Linked DNA regions of Homo sapiens: region 2 is linked to region 1. The links are contacts of gene promoters, found by promoter capture Hi-C in blood cells and fetal thymus (Javierre and others, 2016). All regions are on one chromosome and are shown on one strand. The core of a region is centred on a gene start or on the middle of the fragment in contact, and the rest is flanking DNA. Distances in the headings are between cores, read along the strand shown.

What was found. Contacts are between HindIII fragments. The CHiCAGO score rates a contact against its expected background, and 5 or more counts as called.
Region 2: a contact is called between a fragment that was not itself captured here and the fragment with the promoter of MED13 in region 1, in 1 of 17 cell types (total B cells). The highest score is 5.2, in total B cells.

The regions. Positions count from the first base shown.
Region 1 is chr17:62,061,275-62,068,019 of GRCh38, reverse strand. MED13 (mediator complex subunit 13) reads left to right here and starts at 2,742. Exons shown (of 30, transcript NM_005121.3): 1 at 2,742-2,880; 2 at 4,719-4,953. The coding sequence starts at 2,815. RefSeq lists silencers at 1,952-2,031, 2,822-3,101 and enhancers at 2,082-2,341, 3,252-3,351. The HindIII fragment of the contact is 3,767 bases long and covers 1,967-5,733 here.
Region 2 is chr17:60,519,204-60,525,948 of GRCh38, reverse strand. It overlaps APPBP2 (amyloid beta precursor protein binding protein 2), which reads left to right. Exons shown (of 13, transcript NM_006380.5): 1 at 1-155. The coding sequence starts at 18. It also overlaps the pseudogene LOC107984970. Among named protein-coding and RNA genes, the nearest start is that of APPBP2, 3.7 kb to the left of the region's middle. RefSeq lists a silencer at 1-17 and enhancers at 98-367, 88-796. The HindIII fragment of the contact is 1,064 bases long and covers 719-1,782 here.

The DNA.
Region 1 (6,745 bases), core at 1,493-3,992:
GGTTTCAGGTATATTCTACCTGCCATTGGAATCCTGAGGATGGTGCTCAAGTCAGGGGGTGGGGGCAATGGGAGGGCAAGACTTCTAAGGAGAATGGAGACCCCTTTAGATGTGAGGAGGGCATTTCAGCCTGAGGAAAGCAGCGGAACAAAGATCTGAGGAGTTTTTCAGGGAACGGGAAATGGGCAGAGGAGCGCTTACCTCATTGGATCTGGGGATTGCTGTCTCCTGGTGCTGGCACTCGGTTATAAAGGATGCCAACCTTAGTTGATTTGAGCTCCTGGATTGAATTAGTCCTGGTTGCATAATTGACTTTGATATGTGGACTTTGGGTTCGAATTAGGTTTAATAAGATTTAACTGCTTCAAAGGGCTTTATAAGAATTCATTTTATCCTTCAAATCTGATTTCAAATGCTACCTACTTTATGACAACTTCTCTAAGTTTGATGCTCTTCTTCTAGTGCACTTACTATGCCATAGTAGGTACATACTTTATTCAAGCAATTACCCCCATTGTATTTTACCTTATTCTGTAGGAAATGTTTCCTTTAGTGCCTCTCTTCAGGAATCTTGAGGGACAGGCAGGTATCTTATTCCTATTTGTATCCTAGGCCTAGCACAGAGCAGGAACACACTCAATTGAGCCAGCAGGTTCTCAATGATTTTTAAAATTACATTAATAATTAACATTAAGTAAGCACTGTGGCAAGCACTGTATCTACATTGTTTCATTCACCAGTCATTTTAGAAGAAAAGTACTTTTATTACCCCCATTTTACAATAACCGAGAGAAAGCAAAATTAATTTGATCTAAGGTCAAATATGATCTAAGACTAACTAGTGAGGGGCAGAACTTTTTCTCCAGGCTTTGGGCTTCAGATCTGGGCTCTTCACCACCACAGATGAACAAGTGGATAAATGAGGACTTCTTTTCATTCCGTGGCTGAAGAAGTGACATGGAAGAGTCTACCATTCATTTTACAGATACAATTATGTATCTGTAATACATAATACATAATTATGTATCTGTAATACATAAAATTACAGTAAGTCCTAACTCACTGATGTTTCTAACTTCTGAATCATCTTTTTCTTCTTCTTTCTTTCTTGCAATCCTAAAACCGTCAGAGAAACTGTTTTGAACTCATATTGAAGTGTAACCCATCCAAGCACTGGGTGTTTTATGGGAAAGAGAATAAACCTTTTGTTTGGTTCTTACTTCTTACCACCCATTCATTTGTAACTATACAAATATCAAGCACCTACTGTGTGCTAGGAACCTTTTTTTAGGCACTAGAGAGACAGAAGTAAACAACAAAAAAATAGTGAGACCTTTACATACACTAGTTCTCCTGCTCGTCACAATAACTATATGAGGTAATGATGACAACAATAATAGTTAACTCTTAACAGTGCTTATCTGTGCGGGGCACTGGGCTACCTGCTTAATTTGTATTAACTCATTACAATAAGCTTGTGGGGTAAGGGATATGTTTTCCCCATTTTACAGATGAGTAAAGACACAGAGCAGGAAGTGATTTGCTCAAGCTTGGAACCCAGGCAGTGTGGCTCTAATTCCCAGTCTATTAACTACAGGGCAATATTTTGTTTCTTAAATTTATATCTTCATATCACAACTTTTAGGTTGAGGAGTCTTATCCCCATCCAGATCATCTGACTCCCAAATCCAGAGGTTTGCACCTGCACCCCAGCGGCCTCGCGAAATAAATGAGAATGTCTTGGAATTTTTGCCAATACTTTCTCTTCCAAAGAACTCAAACTGATTTCCACGTAATTCTCACTGATTTGTGAAATGAACCTTCCTGGACTGTAAATTTCCCCGCAAAGAGAGGGCCAGGGCCCCGGGTCGTTTTATACTGGCCGGGGCACCCAGCAGATGGCGCTATGTTAGTGGCCACCAGCTGGCTGCCCCGTCCCCCGAGCTCACCGCCTCCGCCGAAAGCTTCCCGGCCCTCCCTCGCTCACTTCTCTCTCCCCCTCCCAACCGAGCCCGGGCCCACGTGACCTCAAGGCGGCCAATGGGTGAGCAGAGAGGGCGAGCTGGTCCCTGTGGCCGCCATTAAAGCGAAGGGAAAACCCGTGAATTCGGATTAAAGGGGGAAAAACACCGCCCGCTGGGCCCACAAAATGGGGGAGACTACGGCGTCCAGCCGGTGAGGCCACAGGAGGGCAAACTTTAGGCCGGCTTGGCCCAGGAACGACACGAAGACAGAGCCAGAGAATGGTCTGAGCCCGCAGACGCCGCCACCACCTCCGCCGCTGAGGAGACTCTGGGCTTAAGGACATCGCCGCTGCCGCGCCGGGGGCCTGGGCTTCTCTCCCGGTTCTCGCCCTTCCCGCTCCTGTGCGGGCGCCTCTCCGCCCGGGAGAACCGTCCTGGGCTTGGGCTCTGCCGTCTCGGACTTGATTTTGATTATTTATTGTGTAATTTATTATTTTTCTTGTGGTAGGGGCACACATCCCCTCCGTCCCCCAGAGAGGGACGAGCGTCTGCGGGATCCGCAGTCCGGCCCGCCAGGCGAGCGCGGCGCGGCCCTCCCGCCTCCGGCCCTCGGCCCCGGGCGGCTGGGTGCCGGCCGGGCGGCGGGGGCTGCTCGCGGCGGCGGCGGCGGCGGCGGCGGCGGGGGGGTGGGTGGGGAGGGCGGGCGCCCGGCGGCCTCCTCTTCCACCGCCCCCCCAACCACTACCCCCCCCCCGGCCCTCCCCGGTGTCTGTGTTTCTCTCTCTGGTCGGAGGCGGCGGTAATGGCGGATGGTGGGTTGTGGCGCCGGCGGCGGCTGCTGTGAGGGACGATGAGTGCCTCCTTCGTGCCGAACGGGGCCAGCCTGGAAGATTGTCACTGTAACCTCTTCTGCCTGGTGAGTGCCGGGGCCGGCGGGCGCCGAGGGAGGGGGGCCGCGAGGTGCGCCCTTGGGCCGTGGGGGAGGGGGCCGGGTCTGGTCCAGATGCCCGAGTTCCCGGGCGAGGCCCAGCCGGAGCCGGCGCCCTGCGAAGCTCCGCGGCCAGCCCCGGGAGGCGGCGTTCGCTCTCCTACGGTCCCGGGCTCTGTTTAGGGGAGTGTTGGCATTTTTTCTCGTCTTGTTTCGGACTCTCCTTCTCACCGTAGTCTCGTCCTCAACTTGAGCTCCTTATCTGGCAGGACAGTAACCTTTCCCTCTTGTCTTGCTTAACTGTTGCTTTTCTCCTTATTGGCCCTGTATCCCTGCTTCACACTTTACATTATTGCCCCTGCTCCCCACCGCCTTTATGTCTTACCCTTTTAATTTGGTTTCCCCATGTAAACAGGACCCCAGAACTTAAGCCCTAGAAACCTGTCTTGGTTTTACATTTTTTTTGTATGAGTCAAACTAACGCCAGGTTAGTTTCTTTCTTGGGTGACTTAAGATCTCTCTGTAAAAGCCAGTAGGTGCCATTTCATATGTTTTCTTTTTAAACTTTGAAAACAGTTTGCCATTTTTGACAATTTCTAGCCATCTTGCTTTTATTAGAACATGATGTTTTTGTGAGAGTGAAGGGGGCTAGTGGACGAGGTGCTGTGGTTTTGCACTGTTTCTATATTTATTGTGTTTTGGTTGCTTTTTCAGAATGTTTTGAGCAGGCTGCTCCCTTGTTTGATTGAAATGGAAAGTCGAGAGAAGCGGGATGTAGGGATGATCATTGTGTAGGTTAGCCCAGGTCTGGTAACATCCAACAGTTAAGGCTTTCAGAAGTACCAACTGTTGCAAATAACTTGTCCTGTATGGGACAGTAGCTGAGCTTCATCAATGACTTTAAGTTTGGGTGACTTTACTTTTTCATTTTCTCCTTTGTGCTATGAGAAATATTAAGAGTATATGATAGGTAAGTGAGTTAAGTGGGAGGAGCACAACTAGTTGGCAAGTGTAAACTGCCAGTCATGTATCAGCAGTTTCATTTTTGGCACCTTATGCTTTGCTCCTTTAAGTTAGATTAAATTACTGAATTCCTCTTGTCGAATTTCTTAACGCCCATGCTAAATTGAGATCTTTAATACTCTATCCTCGTCTACAGTATGTTTTTCTTTTCAATGTCCATTAATCAGCATCTCTTCACATGTAATAAGACATACACCAGGTTTTATATTTCTATCTTATCCAACTCAGTCTATTTTTGGTACTTTTAGGATCAGTTCTTTGAAGATAGACTAGCACAAATCTGACAGTTCTTTGTGAGTAGCTATTTGACTTTTCCGACAGGGGTGTGTGTGAAGAATTAACATAGATTTTTTCAGAACTTGTTCAGATGTCTTTTCATTAGAGACGTTACTTCTGTAAATGTGGAATAAAAACCCATGATAGGGTCTTTAATAATTGATTTTCAGTTAAAAGTTTGACACCAGTGAACAAATGTGACCAGTTAGGACAGAGAAAAATGTACTCTGTTTGCATATTGAAGTGTGTGTCTATATTTAACATCATTCAGTTTCTTCTGTTTCTACTTGGAGTACATATTTGCTTGCTATTCAGTGACATGGTGGTGGTAATTTTTAACTGTATTCTTCTCCCTAAAATTCTTGGTTGTTGAATTATAAAGTCTTTTTTTGTTCTAATTTGCAGTCAATATCTCAAGCATACATTGAAAAATTGTAATGTCTTAATGAAATAAGAGACATCATATTGAGTACTTTTGACTTTGAGTGAATATGCAGTAATAAAACTTAATGCTTTCTTTCCTTCAGGCTGACTTGACAGGAATTAAGTGGAAAAAATATGTATGGCAAGGCCCAACTTCTGCCCCTATTCTGTTTCCTGTGACAGAAGAAGACCCCATTTTGAGCAGTTTTAGTCGCTGCCTTAAGGCAGATGTACTTGGTGTTTGGCGGCGAGATCAAAGACCTGGAAGAAGAGAATTGTGGATATTTTGGTGGGGTGAAGACCCCAGTTTTGCTGACCTTATTCACCATGACTTATCAGGTGAAAGAAACTTTCCATTTCTAACTAATGATATAGCAACATTGTATACTTCTCCCAGAATGTCATATGTATTACAAATTAAGTTTGTTTTTGTGGGAGACTTAGGAGGCCAGATAAAAATTCAGCTTCATTGTTTTATTTCACCATGATTATTTTATTTTACTTAAATTATCCATGTTGTTATAGCTGGGTTTTTAAGGCGTGAATGACTTTCTCCTTCCACCACCTCTCTTCTTAATTTCTCACAGGTAGTTAGGGCCCGAAGAAGGCATGTTACATTAATCTAAAAAAATGGAATCAGGAAACAGAGTTCCTAACAAAGTCGTGTAATAGTTTAGAAGCCAGATGTAACTTTTGAGTCACTTCAGCCACTGCTGAAGTTGAGTCTTTTGCATTGAATAGGCAGATGATTCTAAAAGTACTGGAAATGTAACTATCCGTGTGTGTGTGTGTGTGTGTGTGTGTGGTGTGTGTGTGTGTGTGTGTGTTTTAAGGCATGTATTTTGTTATTGTCATTTGTGCTATTTGATTAACTTATGAAGGCATATGTTAATTTAGTTATTTTTGGAAAGTGACTCATATACTGTTCTGTCAAACATAATAAGAGAAAAGTGCCAACTTGTTTAGCTTTTATGGGACATGGGATCATAATCTAAAAGGTTACACAAACAATTTTATTGTGAGCAAATCAATGTGATTACTTCCTTATTTTCTTGACTTTTAGGACCAAATGCTACTTTAGAAAGAGAAACTATAGCTTTTCATATAATTACTGAAGCTTTAAATTGTGAAAGTCAGTATTAACTGAATCTTAGATAATAGGAATATAAATGATTGGTTGTATGCTATAAGGTTCCAAAGACTTCAGTAAGATAGTTTGATAATGATTTTTGACAGATAAACTTAGGATTTCTAGATAATTTTTTTTAAGTTCTTATTTGAAATTGAGTACTCTGAAGTTTTTGTTATTGTATCTCTGACCTATAGGATCTATTTTATTTTTGGATAGAATGTATTCTAGGTGTCTGTATCTTGAACTGGTACTTAGTAAGACCAACATTTATGTAGGAATGTACGTGTTACATTTGTATGTTTTGATAATTGCTTTTCACATTCTAATGAACATACTCTCCAGTGTTAATTGTTATTTTTGAGAGTGACTGCAATTCTTCAAGAAAGCTTTCCAGCTTTTGTAGTTTTTCTAATAAGATGCCTGCTGCAGAGTCCAGTCCTTAGTTGTGTGTATTTAATGTAGTTCTAAATGTGTAAAGTGATGTGTATATGTATATACATATATGTACATATACATGATGTATGTATATATGGTAGTTTTAGCGAGACAATACTTTCTAATTATGCCAAAAGCTAAGTCCGCCAGCCTCCTTTTTCTTTCATTGTTTTGGATATAGTATTTGAGTTATTTTAATCGTTAAGTGGTCATAAAAATCACCTTACTAGAATGTTTGGAGACTGTATAACATTGTTGAAAAACTATAAACTATTGATAAAATATATTTGTTGATAAAACATAATTATTGATAAAACTATAATGGTGACTTAGGGGCTTTGGTCTTCTTAATAAAGTTGGCAGAGCATCTAAACAGACTAAACAGATCTTTTTTTAAGATTCCATGAAATACACTTTGTAGAATCAAAGATAATTTTAAGAGATACATAATGTTTAATTTTTTTTTTCTTTTTTTCTTTTTAAGTAGAGATGGGGTCTTGCTGTGTTGACCAGGCTGGTCTTGAACTCCTGAACTCTAGTGATCCTTCCATCTTAACCTCCCAA
Region 2 (6,745 bases), core at 1-2,500, 1.5 Mb after region 1:
AGGAGGAGGGAAGGAAGATGGCGGCCGTGGAACTAGAGTGGATCCCAGAGACTCTCTATAACACCGCCATCTCCGCTGTCGTGGACAACTACATCCGCTCCCGCCGAGACATCCGCTCCTTGCCCGAGAACATCCAGTTTGATGTTTACTACAAGGTATGCGCCGTGGGCCTCCTCTCTGCTCTCCTCCAGCAACCCCGGGGGCCGCACCCCCTTCCACGTCTGCGAACCCCCGCAGTTAACCCCTCACCCCTTCCGGCAGACTTGCCTCCCGAAACGTCTGGTGCGGTGTCTGCATTGCCAGTGGAGAAGCACCCCATCTCCCTATGCCCTGTCTCTTAAGCTTTGGGGCCTTGAAGTAATCTTGGGGAGTCTTGCTCCCTGTTGGTGTTCCCTTCTACACAGTGGCCCTCTTGGGTAGGCCTTTTGCGTGGACTTACTCTATCGCGCCCCTGTCCCACCTAGTCCTTTCCTTCTAGCCCGTATCTTCAGGATATTTTCCATCCTCTCCTTCCAATTAAGTGTCAGCATCAGCTGGACTTTTTTCCGTGCTCCTCCCCCCACCCATTCCTACTTTCTCATCTCGCCGCCTTCCTTCCCCGAGTGTTTTGGTGTTTTTGCTTCGTGTTCCTTCGTTTCTCCTTTCTTTTCCCAATTGGGAAGGAGTTAGGGATTATTGGAAATAATCTGTGTGTTTTATTTGCATATTCTTTAAAGCTTTGATTTTTTTGTGGGAGAGGAGGGGCTCTATACTTGAATTAGGGATTTTGTGAAAATGGGAGTGCTGATCAACTGTTTGAAGAGGACAGGGAGAGATCTTTACTGAAAGAAAAAAACACTTTAGATTATGTTCCTGTGTTTGAAAGTTGCAATCTTGCAGCATTCTTAAATCACTCCCCCTCAAAAATCTGAACAGCAAGTCTCCCAAGCCACTCTCCAAGGAGTTTCAAGGGTAAGTGTCCTTAGATGTGGACTATTTTTGCAGTGTTTTCAGAGTGTGGAGAACTTTATGGACTCAGAGCCTGCCCTTTTCTCTCCCCCACATTTGAATGTGAACACTGGATTTATTATTCAGTCTTCCTTGTCTTGAATCCGCGTCGATAACTCCTAGTGTCCAGTAGCCACCCATGCAAAATGTGACTAAAAGTAGAATGTAATTTATTTTTTAGACCTTAAATACTTCCTCTTGATCTGTAAGTTGGCTGGAACAGTGTAAACTGATATTTTAACAGATGTTTATGTTCTTACGTATGTACAGTGTTTTGTGGCAGTTGTTTTATTGGGAAGATTGCCTGCTTTCTCCACCCCTAGATTTTTTTTTTTTTTTTTTTTTTTTTTTCAGAATTAGCAGTTGATGGGCTGCGTTCTACTAAATCCAGCTGCTTTGCACCAATTCTAACAATTAAAGTGGGGTTTCCCCCCTAAATATTTGGAGAAGATTCATTTAGGTCATGCGTATTATTATTTTGGATTTCGAGAAAAAGCTCCCTTTTTTCCTAATCCCTTTGATACATTGATTTACTTTTGTGTATTCTAAGGAAATTTTGTTCATTTAAGATACATTCCTCCCCAGGAAGGACAAATTAGATTTGTCTTTCTCAGCCTGGGAAACTGCAGCTTTGTGTGTGCTCTCTGTCCATTTTATTAAATCATGTGTAATCTTGTACCTCATATGTAATCTCTCAGAGGAAATCATTGGGAATGTAATCCAAGTGTATTTACTAGTTGAATTCGTTCAAAATACTTGAATATCTTTTAGTAACTTTCACTTCTAATTGAAGCTTTTCATTTGAAGATTATTAGTATGAATAGATGGTGCTTTTGTTAGAATTTCTGTTTCACATAGTTCACACAGTTTTAATATTGCTCCTTTTTGGTACACTTTTACTTCTTAATAGTTGTATGCTTATTGGGAGTATGGCACTGTGCTAAGATGAGGGAAGTGTTAAACATGTGCCTGTAACTATGTTGTGCTTTTATGTGTTATTTTGTTTAATCTTCAGAATTAAACTGTGAAGTAGAGTACAGTATAACCTTGCTTTATTGGTGAGAAAGTTAAGTAATTTAATTAAGGTCTCAAACCTGATATTTAGTTCCTGAGTTCCTTGCTCTTTTACTTAGATATCTATCTTAAGATAGTAGATTATTTTAATGAAAGATATTATAACACTAATTTTTTTATTAGCTTCTATGGAAGTGGAGTGAAAGTCAGTCCCAGGACTCTATTCTAATCTTTAATGGAGATGTAAGAAGAAATTATTCTTTTTATTAAAATTTAAAAAAAATAGAGATGGGGTCTCGCTGTTTTGCCCAAGCTGGTCTTGAACTCCTGGGCTCAAGCTATCCTCCTGCCTCAGCCTACTGAGTAGCTGAGACTACAGGCATATGCCACCGCACCTGACTTTTCTTCCTTTTAAACACTATTAGCATATACATATAAGAAACTTTTTTTGTGGAGACAGGATCTTGCTCTGTTGCCCAGGCTGGAGTGCAGTTGTGATCATAGCTCACCGCAACCTTGAACCCCTGGGCTTAAGCAGTCTTTCCATCTCAGCCTCCTGAGTAGCTGGAACTACAGGTGTATGCCACCCATGCCTAGCTAATTTTTTTTTTTTTAATTTTTAGTATAGATGAGGTCTTGATATATTGCCCAGGCTGGAAAAACTTTTTAAAGCAATATAACTGCACACATAAATATAAGATACTCACCCCCTGCCCAACTTGTGAAAATTTTAGGAGGCTTACTGTTTCCAATTTCCAATTTTCTGCACTTTAAAGCCAAGGAGAAACTCATAATTACATCTCTCTTGCAGTCCAAATTTCCATCAGTAGGCATAGTCATAGACAAAATTGGAGTATTTGTGGAATCAAATTTCCCCATTCTGCTTGTTTGGTGTACTACAGTATGACTGTGTTAATTTTTGTAATAGCTTCAGATAAAGGCACAATCGTAAAGCATTAGGAGATGGGGTTATGGAATGAATGGAAGGTAAAGAAGCAGGAATGTTGACTGCTGTATAAGCAGGGAAGGGAGAGCATAGAAAGGGTAAAATATGAAATGTTTTTTCTTTTTTTTAAAAAAAAAAAAGAATGGAAGACACTAGAATATATTTGTTGGCTGAGTGGCAGAAACCAAGAGAATGAGGTTGAGTATCCAAGTGTGGTGGGAAATAAGTTACGGAGCAAAGTCCCTGAGCAGGAACATGAGTTGATGAGTCTTGCCTGTTTTTGGTCTTTCCTCCTTCACCGTGCATAAATTAAGGTATTATCCTTATATTGGAGTTGGGGAAAGAACTCTTCTTCTAAGATCAGAACAAAAGAATTAAAGATGTAAAGGCGCAGGGCTCACACTCATAATTCCAACACTTTGGGAAGCTGAAGCAGAAGGATCGCTTGAGCACAGGAGTTCGAGACCAGCCTAGGCAACATAGACCCCTTCTCTACAAAAAGTAGAAAAAGTTATCCAGGCATGGTGGTGCATGCCTGTCATCCCAGCTACTCGGGAGGCTGAGGTGAGAGGATTGCTTGAGACCAGGAGGTCAGAGCCTGCAGTGAGCTGTCATTGTGCCACTGCACTCCAGCCTGGGCAACAGAGGGAGATCCTATCTCAAAACAAAACAAGTCGTTAATATAGGTAAGTTTGTAAGAATGATTGTCATGAATTAGGAGGTGAGTTCATTTGCTGCGGGTAAGTGATAGGAGTGGTAGCTTTTATACAGGAAGTCTAAACAGAAGTTGGGAATGTCTACTGAGGTGTATGAGAAGGGAAGGTGACTAAAAATGTGTAAAAGAATAGTTAATAAAAATCAGAACCCTACACAATACAGTCATGTGTTGCTTAATGACGGGGATATGTTCTGAGAAATGCATTGTTAGGCGATTTCATGCTTGTGGGAACATCAGAGAGTGTATTTACACAAGCCTAGATGGTATAGTCTACTACACACCTAGGTTATGTGGGATAGCCTATTGTTCTTAGGCTACAAACTCATATAGCATGTTACTTTACTGAGTACCGTAGGCAGTTGTAACACAGTATTAAGTGCTTGTGTATCTAAACCAGGGGTGTCCAATGTTTTGGCTTCCCTGAGCCACATTGGAAGAAGATAAATTGTCTTGGGCCACACATAAAATACAATAACGATAGCTGATAAGCTGAGGAAAAAAAAAATCTCATAATGTTTTAAGAAAGTTAACGAATTTCTGTTGGGTCTCATTCAAAGCTGTCCTGGGGGCTAGGTGCAGTGGCTCATGCCTGTAATCCCAGCTCTTAGGGAGACAGAGGTGGGAGGATAGCTTGAACTCAGGAGTTCGAGACCTGCCTGGGCAATAAAGCGAGACCCCATTCTTCACAAAAAGAAAAAAAAAAGTGTAACTGAAAGCTGACCTGGGCCACGTGTGGCCCGCTGGCTGTGCATTGGGCAAGCTTCATCTAAACATGGAAAAGGTACAGTATAAAAGATAAGAAATGGTACACCTGTATAGGGCACTTACCGTGAATGGAGCTTTTAGGACTGGAAGTTGCTCTGGTAAGTCAGTGAGTGAGTGGTGAGTGAATGTGAAGGCCTAAGACATCACTGTACACTACTGTAGATGTTATAAACAGTGTATACTTAGACGACTATAAATTAATGTTAAAAATAAAGTAATTCAACTACAATGTCTCTAGGCAATAGGAACTTTTTGGCTCTATTATAATCTTATGGGGCCACCTTTTTATATGCAGTCGGTTGTTGACTGAAACTTTATGTGGCATGTGATCATAATGCTTGGATTCTGAAAGTTTTCTCTCCAAGGGCGTGCAACCATTTTGGTATAAAAGCAGGTAAGATGAAGTGAAAGAATTGTGAGGCAGATGGAGTGATATATGCCTGTAGTCCCATCCTAGCTACTCAGGAATCTGAGGCAGGAAGATGGTTTGAGCCCAGAAGTTGGAGGTTATAGGGTGCTAGCTGCGGTCGTGCCTGTGAATACTGCACTCCAGCCTGGGCAACACAATTATCTCTTAAAAGAAAATTCTAGAACTCTATACAGAGTGAAAGGAAATAGAGACGGGGCTGTGTTCTTATTCTAAAGAATGAAGTTTATGGCCAGGTGTGGTAGCTCACACCTGTAATCCCAACAGTTCGGGAGGCTGAGCCGGGAGGATCTCTTGAGTCCAGGAGTTCAAGACTGGCTGGGGCAATGTAGTGAGACTCCATCTCTTTAAAAAAATGAATGAAGTTTATGATCTTTTTATTTTAACTACTGAAGGTCTATTTTGTGTTTTTTCCAAATACAAAGTGTGCCGTAGAGTTAAACTTTGTCTGGGTGAAGTGTTTCAGCAGTGTGTTCTATGTATTGTTTTCACAATCTTAATTTTTTTTTTTTTTTTTTTTTAACAGAGTCTTGTTCTGTTGCCTGGGCTCGAGTGCATAGGCACAATGTCGGCTCACTGCAACCTCTGCCTCCTGGGTTCAAGTGATTCTCCCGCCTCAGCCTCCCAAGTAGCTGGGATTACAAGCACCTGCCACCACATCCAGCTGATTTTTGTATTTTTAGTAGAGATGGGGTTTTACCATGTTGGCCAGGCTGGTCTTGAACTCCTTACCTCAGGTGATCTGCCTGCCTCGGCCTCCCGAAGTGCTGGGATTACAGGAGTGAGCCACTGCGCCCGGCCTCCTTAATGATTTTTTTAAAAATTAAAGTATTATGCTGAAAAGAAAAAACAAAATAAAAATAAATACCATGCTGAAAACCATACTAATTAGGTTCTGATTTAGGATCGGAGTTAATTTTTTCTTTTTCTCTGTATATTTCAGTTGTATAGCTACATACAGCCTGAACTAACATTCAGTTTTCTGAGAATTTAAAAAAATACACTGATGGCCGGGCATGGTGGCTTATGTCTGTAATCTCAGCACTTTGGGGCCATGGTGGGAGGATTTTGCTTGAGTCCAGGAGTTCGAGACCAGCCTGGGCAACATAGTGAGATCCCATCTCTAGAACAAAGAAAAAAATTAGCCATGTGTGGTGTTGCATGCCTGTAGTCTCAGCTACTCAGGAGGCTGAGGCAGGAGGATTGCTTGAGCCCAGGAGGCTGAGGTTGCAGTGAGCTGTCATTGCATCACCGTACTCCAGCCTGGGTGACAGGGTGAGACCTTGTCTCAAAAAAAAAAAAAAAAAAAAAAATTAAATTTGGCTACTAAAATTATAAAAGTATCAGAATAAATTATTGGGTCAATATTTTGCAGTGGGAAATGACCAAAATTTCTTCTTTAAAGAAATTGTTTTTCTTTCTTTTTTAAGAGACAAGTCCTCCTTCTGTCTCCCAGGCTGTAGTGCAGTGGCATAATCATATCTCACTGCAACCTTGGACTCTTGGCCCCAAGTGATCCTCCTGCCTCATCGTCCCGAGTAGCTAGGACTACAGATGCTTGCCACCACACCTGGTTAATTAAAAAAAAAATTTTCTCCTTTCTGTAGGAGATAACAACAAAAAAAACCTTAAAAATTTTTTTTTTGTAGAGACCGACCGTATCTCACTTTGTTGCCCAAGCTGGTCTTGAACCTTAGCCTCAAGCAGTCTTCCCACCTCAGCCCCGTAATGTGCTGGGATTACAGGTGTGAGTCACTGTGCCTAGCCTAAAAAATTATTTTTAAGGTAATGTACAAATCATGAAAATGTCAAACACTATAAAAATAAGTGGCCAGGAGCAGTGGCTCATGCCTGTAATCCCAGCACTTTGGGAGACCAAGGCAGGAGG